Linked DNA regions of Homo sapiens: region 1 is linked to region 2. The links are contacts of gene promoters, found by promoter capture Hi-C in human tissues and cell types (Jung and others, 2019). All regions are on one chromosome and are shown on one strand. Each heading gives the region's core, a stretch centred on a gene start or on the middle of the fragment in contact. The rest is flanking DNA. Distances are from core to core; before and after follow the strand shown.

Region 1 (5,570 bases), core at 1,240-3,739, 40 kb before region 2:
ACCCGCTCTTTCACCAGTGCCTGCGCAGCACGGCTGCCTCTGCCTGCATGGCCTCCATTCATTCATTCAATAAACATTTATGGAGCACCTACTATGTACCAGGCGCCGGCTAGGCCCGCCCTCCTGGCTCTGCCTCCTCCACCTGCTCCTCCCCCAGGGTCCCAAGGGGCGAACGCTTCCCTGCCCTCCAGTACCCTCAGGGCTGTCCCAAGACAGGGGCAGTGCATGTGGGGACCGCAAGGGGGAAATGGAGGCTCCAGTGTCGGACAGCGAAGCCCCCTGAGAGGTAGCCCGGGGAGGGATGGGCGGCCTCCGACAAGATGAAAAGTCTTCAGTGCTTGCACTGGCTGGGCCTCCGCACTTCCCATATTAACTCATTTAATCCTGAGCCAACTTTAAACATCTTAAAAGCACTATCACTATTCCCACTTTGCAGATGAGGAAACTGAGGCCTCACAACTGCTACACAGTGGCTTCCAGCCTCCACGGCCCCAGGCTCCGTTCAAGAGCTGCTGTGGGATCCTGTTTCATCTGGATGGTGGTTTTCACATTTTTTTAATCAGTTGCCAATATTGAAAACTTGGCAGATTTTATTTCAAAAATCCTCATTTCTGGAATCCACTGAGATACAGGGAAGATCTGGCTTCCCTGGGTCTGCGTCCCCGGAGGCACAGCAGTGGCACAGGCCGGGGCAGCATCCAACCTCCTCCCTGCCTCTCTGGTTTAGGTGGCCAGCTGACCCCTGCACACTGGAGTTTATGAGGCCAGCAACAAGGGGGGAACCCCAGAGTGGGGACACGTAGAAACCCAGCCTGTCAGGGGTATTCCTATGAGCCTCTCAGCCTGGGACCCAAGGGTGCCCCGATCCCTGCCTCCTGTACTTGACCCCTGCCTGACCTCGAGCCCCCCTCCCCTATCCTCCTGACCCATGGCTCCTGGGTTTTAGTACCAGGATACTAACAGCATGGATCGGTCATTTAGGGAGGGAGGTCTCCAGTTATGAGTCTGGGGCTCAAGGATTCTAGGATGTATCTACCATTTATTTGGTCCTAAAAGTCTCCTGTGTCTTGGCCTCTGTGGGTCACCAATTCTACAGGACTTTAAGCTGTCCTGACCCTCTGACAGCTTCCCCTTGGCTCCATGCGGCCCCACTGGGGAGAGGTCCCCAACCAAGGGAGTTCCCACACAGCCACCCCAGGCCCACCTGTCACCTTGTGGGGCCCACTTCTCTCCTGCCTGGGTCAAGTTTGGGACTCCTACTGGGGTTTGAGGGTTACCCTCTCCCAAACATTATTCCCACCCCACAGAACACTGCCAGCTGGCCTAGCCTAGGTGCTGTTTCCAAGCATGGCCACTGTGGACACCAGGAGACCTGAGTTCCTGAAGCCACACCACAGCTCACCAAGGGGCCCTGGGGTTTCTGGAATGGCTCCTTGGTCCCACCCCTCTCCCCATGGACTCCCTCACTCTGCTCACCTAGGACTGGGACACCTGCCTGCTACGCCCCCAGCCCCCTGTCCCTAGCATGGCCCAGCACCCAGGGTCCTGGAGCCCTCTAGGCCCAGGCTGAGAAACCCCTCCTGAGGCCACAGCCCATTCAGCTTCTGTCGCTTCAGAACCTCTAACCAGGCGATCGCAAGGGGTCAGTATGGACACCAGCTGGGGTGGCCCAAATTCCCTCCCCCTGGCCCTGAGACCAGCTTTCTCCAGAGGAGGTGGGAGGGTCCAGCCCACACTGACGGCCGCCTCTGAGGCTACGGGGGGCCTGCAGCTGCAGCAGCAGAGAACAAGGAGGCTCTGTCGGTGCAGAGGGGTCGACATCGAGCCCCGGAAACTCCCCGGGGAGGGCCGCCGGCTGGGCAGAAACCACAGCCCAAACGTGAGGCTATCTATGTGACAGCTGCTGTGGCCACCAACTCCGCGTGGCCAGTCCACCAAGACCGGCCCTCCCTAACGTGCTGCCAAAGCGCAGGGTCCACATTCAGCTCGAATCCAGGCTATGCCACCTCACCCCGTGGTCCTGGCAAGCTAATCTGTCCTGGGTCTCGGTTTCCTCTTCTGTAAAGTGGGACAAGAAGGGCACCAGCTCAGAGGGCCGTGGAGGGGGATGGCCACAGGCCAGGGTCTGGGCAGGGTCACAGCTCCAGGAAGCTGCCTCCTGCAGGTATCGCTGTGAGGGTCTGGCGCGTGGCACCGTGGCACACGCCAGGCAGGCAGGAGGACCTCATTACCCACCGCAACCATGACAGTGAGGAAGGATGGGGCCTGGCCTGTCTTCCTTTCAGTCCCGAGGGCAACACACCCCTCTTTGCCTCTGTCCCTGTCCCCTCTCTGATGTCCAGGCCCCCCAATAGCCTGCTCCCACCCCCACCTTCAGCCTGTTCCCCGGCCTCGGTTTCTCTCCCAGCGCCAAAGCACAATGGCTGTTATAATTAACGAATTATCTCAGCGTGACAGCTGTGGTCCTTTGAAAATTAGCTTGAATAACAAGATCCTGGTGTATGGTAATTTATTTTCCTCTTTCTCCCCCCTTCTCTCTCCCTCACTTCAGCCTTGTCATGCATGCAAATGTTTTTCCCCTTTTCCTCCTTCCCTGACACCTTCCCCCTCTGTAGCCTCCTCGTCCTCCTCAGGAGGGTAAGGGACAGACTAAGCTTCTGCCTTCAGGTGAAAAGATGCAGGAGCTGACCCTCCTGGGCACCTCGTCCGCGCTGGTGCCAGGCACAGCGCCTGACATGTCGCCTTCTGAAATCTCCCCACAGACCTAAGTCCTGCCACCTTCTTCCTGGGCTGGGGACCTGCAGCTTTGCTTTCCCGCGACCTCCCAGGCCGCGGCCCCTCGGGCTCCTCTGCTTGTAAGCCAAGCAGTGGCCTCCCCTGATGTCCTGGTCCCTGCTCACTGCCTCTCTCAAACCCGCTTCCCCCTCCCCTACCCCAAGAGCCCTTCAACCCTTCCCAAGGCTTCTAATGTCAGCTCTGGGCTGACCACACCCAAACCACCGTACCCAGCTGCCTCCGGGGCCCTTCCCTGGCACCTGAAACTCACTCGTCCATGTCCACCTCCACGGCTGGACTCATCTCCCACGGCCCCTTCCCCCTCCTCCCCTGCTTCTCTCCCAGTTCCCAGACACAGTGAGAGGCACCCACACCTCCCCACCTGCCCCTAGTCCCGCCTTGGTGCCGCCGCCTCCCCCTACTGCTCCTGCTGGTCTCTCTACCTCCAACCCTACCTCCCCACTCCATGCCCCCTCCACCCAGCAGAAGATGAACTTTCTAGAACATCAACCTGAGCATGGCACTCCCTGCTGAAAAGTCTTCGTTGGCTCGGGCTGATCTGGGAAAATTCCAACAGCATCCAGAGCCCAGCCCACATGGTCTTGTGGGAGCCGCTGCCTGTTCTGCCCTCCTACCTGCCTGCCTTCTTCCAACCTGGCCGGGGTCTCTCCTGTGGGTTCCCACAGCCCCCTGTGCTTCCTCCATCACAACCGGAATCATAACTGCTGCTGCTACCTCTGGACTGAGTTCCCCGAGGAAGGGTCCTGCTTCTCCTAGTAGGTGCTCAATAAATATTTGTTCATGGCTGAGTGAAGGAGGCCAGCTCGCCGCCCTCATATAGATAAGGAAATCGAGGCTCCAAGTAATTCATGACTTGCTCAGATCACACAGTTCATGCAAAAGACAAAACCAGGATTTGAACCAGGTCTGTGACTCCAGTGCTCTTCTGGGCTCTTCTGCTCCCTGGGGAAGTCGGGGAGGGGTCAGCTTTTGCACAGATCTCAGGGGACTTCAGCCTCCCTCCAGCCTCAGTTGGGCAATAAAGAGACCAGCTTCTAGCCTAGGCTGTCACTCCCTTGAGTTTGACCTTGGACTAGCCACATGACTCTCAGGGCCTCAGTCTTCTCATCTGTAAAGTGGGAAGGAGCCCCGCCTCACTCTCTATCCCAGAGGGTGGCTGATAGGGCAGAAACTCAGGTCTTGGAGAAAGCCAGTCCTGCTAACATCTGGGATTTTCCTGACCTCACCCTCCAAATCCAACTGCATTGCCCTTGGCAGGCACTCCCCGGGGCTTCGTGGGGGGCGTCCCCAGGATGGGAGAGGTCACAGAGAATAGGAACTCTTTCAGGGGGAGGTAGTGGGAGAAGCATGCGGGGCTTGGGAGTCAGATTATGACCTTGGGCAAGAGCTTCCTCTCAGAGCTTGGCGTCCTCCTCTGTCAATTGGGGCCACAATGAGGACTAATGTACACAGTGCCTGGCACAGTGCAGGTGCTGCCAAGGCCACATGGCTGCAAGGTTCTATGGGAATGTGATCCTGAAGTGTGCCCCAGAGAGGGAGAGAGAAGAGGGTGAGACAGAGCAGGACCAGCTGTTCCTGACTCTCCCTCAACAGCCCACAATGGCTCCCACTGGCCCCAGAATAGAGCTCACAACCCAACCTGTGGCCCTAGAACCCCTCTCTCCCTCTCTAAGCTCACACCCCACCATGTCCCCTCGCAACCCTATGGAATTGAGGGCACGCCCACACCCATATCCACCAGGCCGTTACTCACCAGCGATTAGCTGGTACTAACCCTGGGACCCATTCCCACCTGTCCCCATCCCCTGGGCCGAGACCTTATGCCTCCTCCTCTGAGAAGCCTTTGGAGATCTCCCTTCTGCAGGGTGACCCCCCTGCTATGCCCCCACAACCCCGAGGTATAGCCCTTGGAATCCTGGATGGGTCCTAGAGATCATCTCCCCCATTTTACAAGTAGGGGAAACTGAGGTGCGGACGAGGAACAGCAGCTCTCCAGTGATGCACTTGAACCCGGGTCTCTGCTGCATCCAGCCCACCAAGCAGCTTCTCTCCTGGTGCTGAGCTGTTTAGCCCTTGCCTGTCTTCTCCATGCCCCCTCCCCTGCCTGGAGCTACCTGAGGACAGGACCCCATCTTCCTGTCTGCGCCCCTCCCCCAGTGCCCAGCCTAAGGCCTGGCGCATAGTAGGCACTCAGTAAATGTCTGTTGAATTGAATTGCGCTCAGGGCGGCCAGTCGTCTCTGCTCTGTAAGAAAAGCATAGAGTTAGTGGAGCTCTCCCCAAGACCAGGGGGGTGGGAACCAAGCTGGTGGGGTGAGGAACCTGGCCTGCCCCAAGGAGCCCACGGGCCCTGGGGAGGGGGCCTGGGAAGCTGGAACATTCAGACTTAGATGAGTCCGAATTCTGCCCCAACAGGCTGCATGGCTCTGGTAAGTCACACTGCGGCAGGGCCTCACTGGCCTCATCTGTCAAATGGAGATGACACTCCGGTCCCTCCAGGCTCTGAGGACTGCTTGTGATGAGGACCAGAGAGATGTGAGGAGTGTAAACAGTAAACCCCAGCTCACAAGCATGGAGTGCCCAGCGCCTGACACAGGAGAGTCGGGTGCGAATGATGCCCATTCTACAGATGAGGAGACTGAGGCTTGGAGAGGGGCCTGGCTTGCCCAAGGCCACACAGCCCATGCATTGATCTCATGCTGTACACACGGCCTCCCTGCCAAGCCAGAGGGAAGCAAGGAGTGATAATGAACCCCAGATGAAGAAGCTGAACCC
Region 2 (5,256 bases), core at 2,408-4,907:
GTCGGCAGAGCTAGGGGGAAGGAGAGGGGGCTCAATTATTCCAACCCCCAGACACCATCTCCAGTAATAATGTCAATGCCTCTGCCCCAGGTGGTAATTGAGCCAAGAGAAGGTTAATTTAATCAGGGATTGGGCTGGGACGGCAGGAGGCAGAGGACTGGGTAAACCTTCTAGACGATTAACACAGCTCCTGAAGAGGTCTAACTTGCTAAGAAGCGTCAGGTTTCGAGGCAATCCTACTTCTCGGCCATCCACTCCACACAGCACATGTCACAACATGGGGCAGGTGGGGGCACCGAGAGAGGAGCTTGGCCCCCAGGCACTGTGGCCGGAGCAGGTGAGGGTAGCAGCAATGTGTGCCTCCCAGCCCTGCACACGGTTGTCACCCTTTCACACTCACACATCACACCCGCAAGGGAAGCTGCCACCACCCTCTTACAGAGACAGGAGAGGCTGACCTCTGTCACACACAGCCAGGATGCAGATGCGGCAGGGGTGTCACTGGAACCCAATTCTGCTGCCAAAAACAAGCATCCTACAAGACCTCAGGGGATATTGAGGAACAGGCATGGAGCCCCCAGTGACCGCCCTAGACACGCCCCACTGGAGAAGGCTTGCTGAGTGTGCCCGTTCCTATCACGCTGACTGTTTCTGGAGCTTGTGGGTGGAAGAGCAAGAGAGCACTGACCTGGGAGTCAAGAGCAGCCTCTCCTCCAGCCAGAGACTCTTGGCCTTGGGCTCATCACCTGGCACCCCACCACCAATTCCTCATAGCTCCATATCTCTCCAGGAAAGGAAGGTACCCCTCGAGAAGGGGCTGGGTAATCAAATGTGTCTCCCTGTAGCCACTGAGGGCGGCGGGGGGGGGGATGGAATTCACATTAAATCAACAGACAGCTTATTCCAGAACTCAGTTTACTCATCTGTCAAATATCCACATAATAGTGGCTAACTCACCCACCTCAAAGAACTGCCGTGGAAATCCAAGGAAAGAAAAGAAAGTCCTTTGCAAAGTTAGACTTAAACCAAAACAGGAAAGCAGCTACTCTGGGCTAGGGGGATAGGAGGTGAGAGGACAGAGCTCACGTGGACTGAGCCCCCACCATATGCCAGGCATCAGCACCCGCCCCCCACAAGGCCCATGGTCTCCTTAACCCCCTTCACCTCTCTAACCCCTCACCCCATGTTACAGAGGAGAGACTGAGGCTCAGAGAGGCGACGCGAATGCTTAAATCACAAAACACAGAAAGCAGCAAAATGGGATTCGAACCAATGGCCTCACGCTCCCTGGCTATGGCCATTTTCTATTGTCACATGCACTGACACACTCACTCATTAAAGCACATCCACCCAGGGGTGGTGGGCCTGGCTGGGATGAAGAGGAAAACAGGGACTGGGGAGGTCAGATAGGGGGCTGCAGCACATTGGAGGCCTCCAGGCCCACCTGGCAAAGGAGTTCAGCAGCCAATGGTGCTGATGTGAGAACCTCCTTCGGGGGTTCCAGTCCTGGAAGGTGCACTCTTCAGGGGGCAGGACTTAAGGAAAGGGGTCCCATGCCCACTCAGGATGCTGGGAAAGGCGGCCTCTTGGGAGGGACCACGCCACGCGTCCTAAGGCTCCATCCCTCTCCCCTTCCCACCCCTCATATACAAGAGACATAACCACACTCGGCCACACACACTCCCGTGACATCACATTTACACACTCTGGCTGGGGGGAGCAACCTCCGACAAAACTGTCCCAGTGACGTCACCTGCGGCCTGGAGCTTATGTCACACCTGAGGTTCTCACTGACCTCACATACATACTTTTTCCTGATGTCCCCACAATTAACACTCTTTCTTCCTGCCTAGGCGTTGATGGCCCAGAGGTACCCACCTCCCCACCCACACAGTTGCAGGGCCCCCGGCTCATCAGGACAGCACCTGCCTGTGCACCCCTCTCAGGGGACACACATGCCCACATGCTTTGCTGATGGCCCAGACGTGACACGTCCCACAGGTGTCCACGGGCCACGAGAACAGGGGTGTCAGCCATGCACATACACATACACACACACACACACACACACACACACTCCCAGTCCCATCTCATGATGCAACTTGCATATTAAAACGCCTCTCGGTAACCGCGCCGGGCAGTCCGCGCCCCACAGCTTCCACCACATTCCTCCAGGTGCTGCCAGCACCCCACTCCCTCCAGCTTTCTGACTCCGACAGCCTGGCCTGCTGATAGCGACAGCCGCAGCCCAGACACACACACACACTCCAGCCCAACACCTGCGTCTCAGCAAGGGACCAAGGCAGTGCCCTCCAGCCGCAGCTGCTGGGTGGGAGGAGTCCAGGGGGAAGGGGCACAGCACAGAGCCCTGAGCTGCAGAAAGTGCCGAGTACCACGTTCCTCCCCAGCTGAGTGCACGGTCAGCACCACTGTCCCCTTCTCGTCTCCCTCCTTGGGCACGCCTGACACACCATGGCCTGTGGCCTCTGTTTTGGACACAAGCTCCCCGAGTGTGCATGCACACGCGCGCGCGCGCACACACACACACACACATCAGCTCCCTTCCCTCCAAACATTCCGAGGAAATCCTGCCAGGCCACTGACAGTGTGCGTGTGTGCGCTTGTGTGTATACAGACAGAGAGCAGGGTCCACCCCATGTCCACACACACACGCACACACCACACACACACAGCACGCACAATCCTCTCCACATGCACACGGCGCCCCACCAGCCAACACACCCACCCCCTCCCCGTCCCCTGACAGCTGCTGGAGCCCACACACGCACGCACACACACACACTGGCACGCGCTCGCACACACACACAAACACACACACACACACACACCCGGCAGTGGCCCCGGCCCTGCCAGAGCTGCAGTGTCTGCGATTTATGCCGCCTCCCTGGGCTGCCTCCCTCCTTGTCCCTGGCCAGCGCCTCTGAAAGGGTCCCCACCCCCCAATTCTGGTCTTACCAACCCCACCGCCGTCAAGCCCCACCCTGGCCCCCCTTCCCCTAGAAGGCATCCACCCCGTCAACCCCTCTTACCAGCTAGAGGATGAATGCCTTGACCCGGCAGCACCCCGTGAAAGAGAGGGGTTAGGGCCCCCGATTCGAAAAGATGAGGGCAGAGAGGTGCAGTGTGGCACCGGCTGGCACACCGTCCACCATCGAGCCTCTGCACCACCCCCAGAAACGCTCACCTCACCGACCGTCCTCGGTGTCCTCCCACCGCCTCCGCCCACCGCCACCACCACCACCTCCCTCGCGCAGGGTGGTCCCCCGGGGGTCTCACGGGGATCCCCAGACCCAGGAGACACTGGGGGTGGCTCTCCCCGTCTCATCCCCCCTTCCGTGTCCCTCTCCAAGCCCCACCCCCACTGACGGAGGGGGTGCCCTCCGGCTCCAGCCCCGACTCCCACCGTCTCCCCGGTCGGTCGGTCGCGGCGCTCGGATCCAGAGGAATTCACTTACCCCAGCCCCAGCCGGGATCCGGGCCAAGCACCGCCTCCGGGAAGCGGCGGCCGCGGGGCCTGCGCGTGTGAGTGTGAGTGTGAATGTGAGTGTGAGCGCGGGTGTGGGTGCGGGGTGCGTGGCCGTGGGGTGGCCCGCGTGTGTCTGTGTGTGTGTCTGGGAGCGCGCGTGTGCGCGCAGACGCCGCCGCCCCCTCCTCCCCGCCGCCGCGCCTCTGCCCCTGCCTCGGCGGGGAGGGCGCCCGGGAGGGGCCAAGCGGCGCGCGTCAGGGACCGCGGCAGGCTGTGTCCGTCTGTCCGTCCCCGTCTGTCCGTCCGCCAGCCCGCCCGCTCCCGGTGCCCTCCGCAGGCCTTTCCGCAGCAAGCCCGCTCCCGCCCCCGAGCCGGCCGCACGCTCCACGGACACACGCGCGCTCGCAGACACACGCCCGCGGGGCTGGGGCCGCGCCTGGCGCCGCCGCTGCAGCTGCAGCGCCCGGGGAGGCGAAGGCGGCCCCACGGACCCGAGCCCCGGCCTGGCGGACCCCTGTCCCGGCCGCGGCCCCCTGCGCTGCTCACCCCGCGGGATCCGGGTCCGGGTCCGGGTCCGGCCTCCGCCAGCGCATTCAACAGCTGGGGGCAAACTTGCGGCGGGGCCGCCCGAAGTGCGCCTGGACTCGCCCTCCCCCTGGACTCCGCCTCCGCTGATGGGCCCCCTCTCCGCCTTGTACCTCCATGCCCTGCCGCCTGCGCCCTGCTGGTTGGTCCCGCGTTCAACCGCTGGCGACTGGGGAAGTGCGGCTGCTGCGTTCCCATTTTACAGGCCAGACAACTGAGGTTCGGAGAGGAGTGATTCCCCCAAGGTTACACAGGGAGCCTACAGACAGTATTAGACTTTACGCTCCCCTACCTTGTGCCAGGGCACTCACTGCCTTTCCCCACCCCTCCAGGAGTAGGTCCAAGGGATACTGGGCTCATCTGTAGCTAGAGAACCTTCATTAGCCTTCCAGAGGCCCAGTTCCCCGCCCCTTACGCCAAAGCCCCTGCCACCTGCTGCCACCTGCAAAGGGGTGGATGCTGGGAGGAGGAGGAGGAGGTGGAAGATGCAAGAAGCCTGGCACCCGGGGCCTATAACTTGGTGCTTGGGCATGCAAGCACCTCCTCCCGAGGCCCTGCGAGCTGCATGTCGGAGGCCTGCTGCCAGCAGGCCCTGTACTTCTCCATCACTTTTATAGGACCGCATGCACCAGCGCCTGTTCTCAGGTGTTGCACAGCAGATGAAGTCCAGGCTGCGGGAACTCCCCGTCGGGACATCTCATGCAGGTCTGGAATAAGGAGACTCCCCAGAAGAAGCCACTGCCTGAGCTGAATCTTGATGGATGAGTAGGAGTTGGCCAGCTAAAGAAGGAGGAGAAGGGTGTCCTGGACTCTGGGAACAGCATGTGCAAAGAGGCACAGAGGCATGAAACAGCTTTGTATGTGTGTACAGGGAACTCCACGGAGTTGGGTATTAGTAGAGCAGAAAGAACGTCTGTCCAGAAATTCCTCCCTCCTTTCAACTAAGAACAGGGAACGGCCCAGGATGGGGCTGGGAGGGCAGACAAGCACTGGGTCACAGGCCACTTGTTGTCCTGGGGTATGCAGAAGGACTATTGGGCGTTCCCCACCTGCACCCCAGGCTGCCTGGCACACTCCTACCCATCCTTCAAGGTCCCTCGCTGCAAACCCAAACAAGCCATGTGCTGTCTCTGCCCTCTAAACTGAGCCCTCCTACAGGGCAGGGGCGGTATCCAACACATGGT

Evidence for each region. The method cuts DNA at HindIII sites, captures the fragments that hold promoters and counts their contacts. A contact is called where the count stands out against the background at its distance.
Region 1: a contact is called between a fragment that was not itself captured here and the fragment with the promoter of ELFN2 in region 2, in 1 of the 25 tissues and cell types used here (IMR-90 fibroblasts).

The regions. Positions count from the first base shown.
Region 1 is chr22:37,384,863-37,390,432 of GRCh38, forward strand. The region is part of intron 2 of ELFN2 (extracellular leucine rich repeat and fibronectin type III domain containing 2); the gene reads right to left. Among named protein-coding and RNA genes, the nearest start is that of ELFN2, 40 kb to the right of the region's middle. RefSeq lists an enhancer at 1,176-1,714. The HindIII fragment of the contact is 7,073 bases long and covers 1-5,570 here.
Region 2 is chr22:37,423,822-37,429,077 of GRCh38, forward strand. It overlaps ELFN2 (extracellular leucine rich repeat and fibronectin type III domain containing 2), which reads right to left and starts at 3,658. Exons shown (of 3, transcript NM_052906.5): 1 at 3,477-3,658. The HindIII fragment of the contact is 24,898 bases long and covers 1-5,256 here.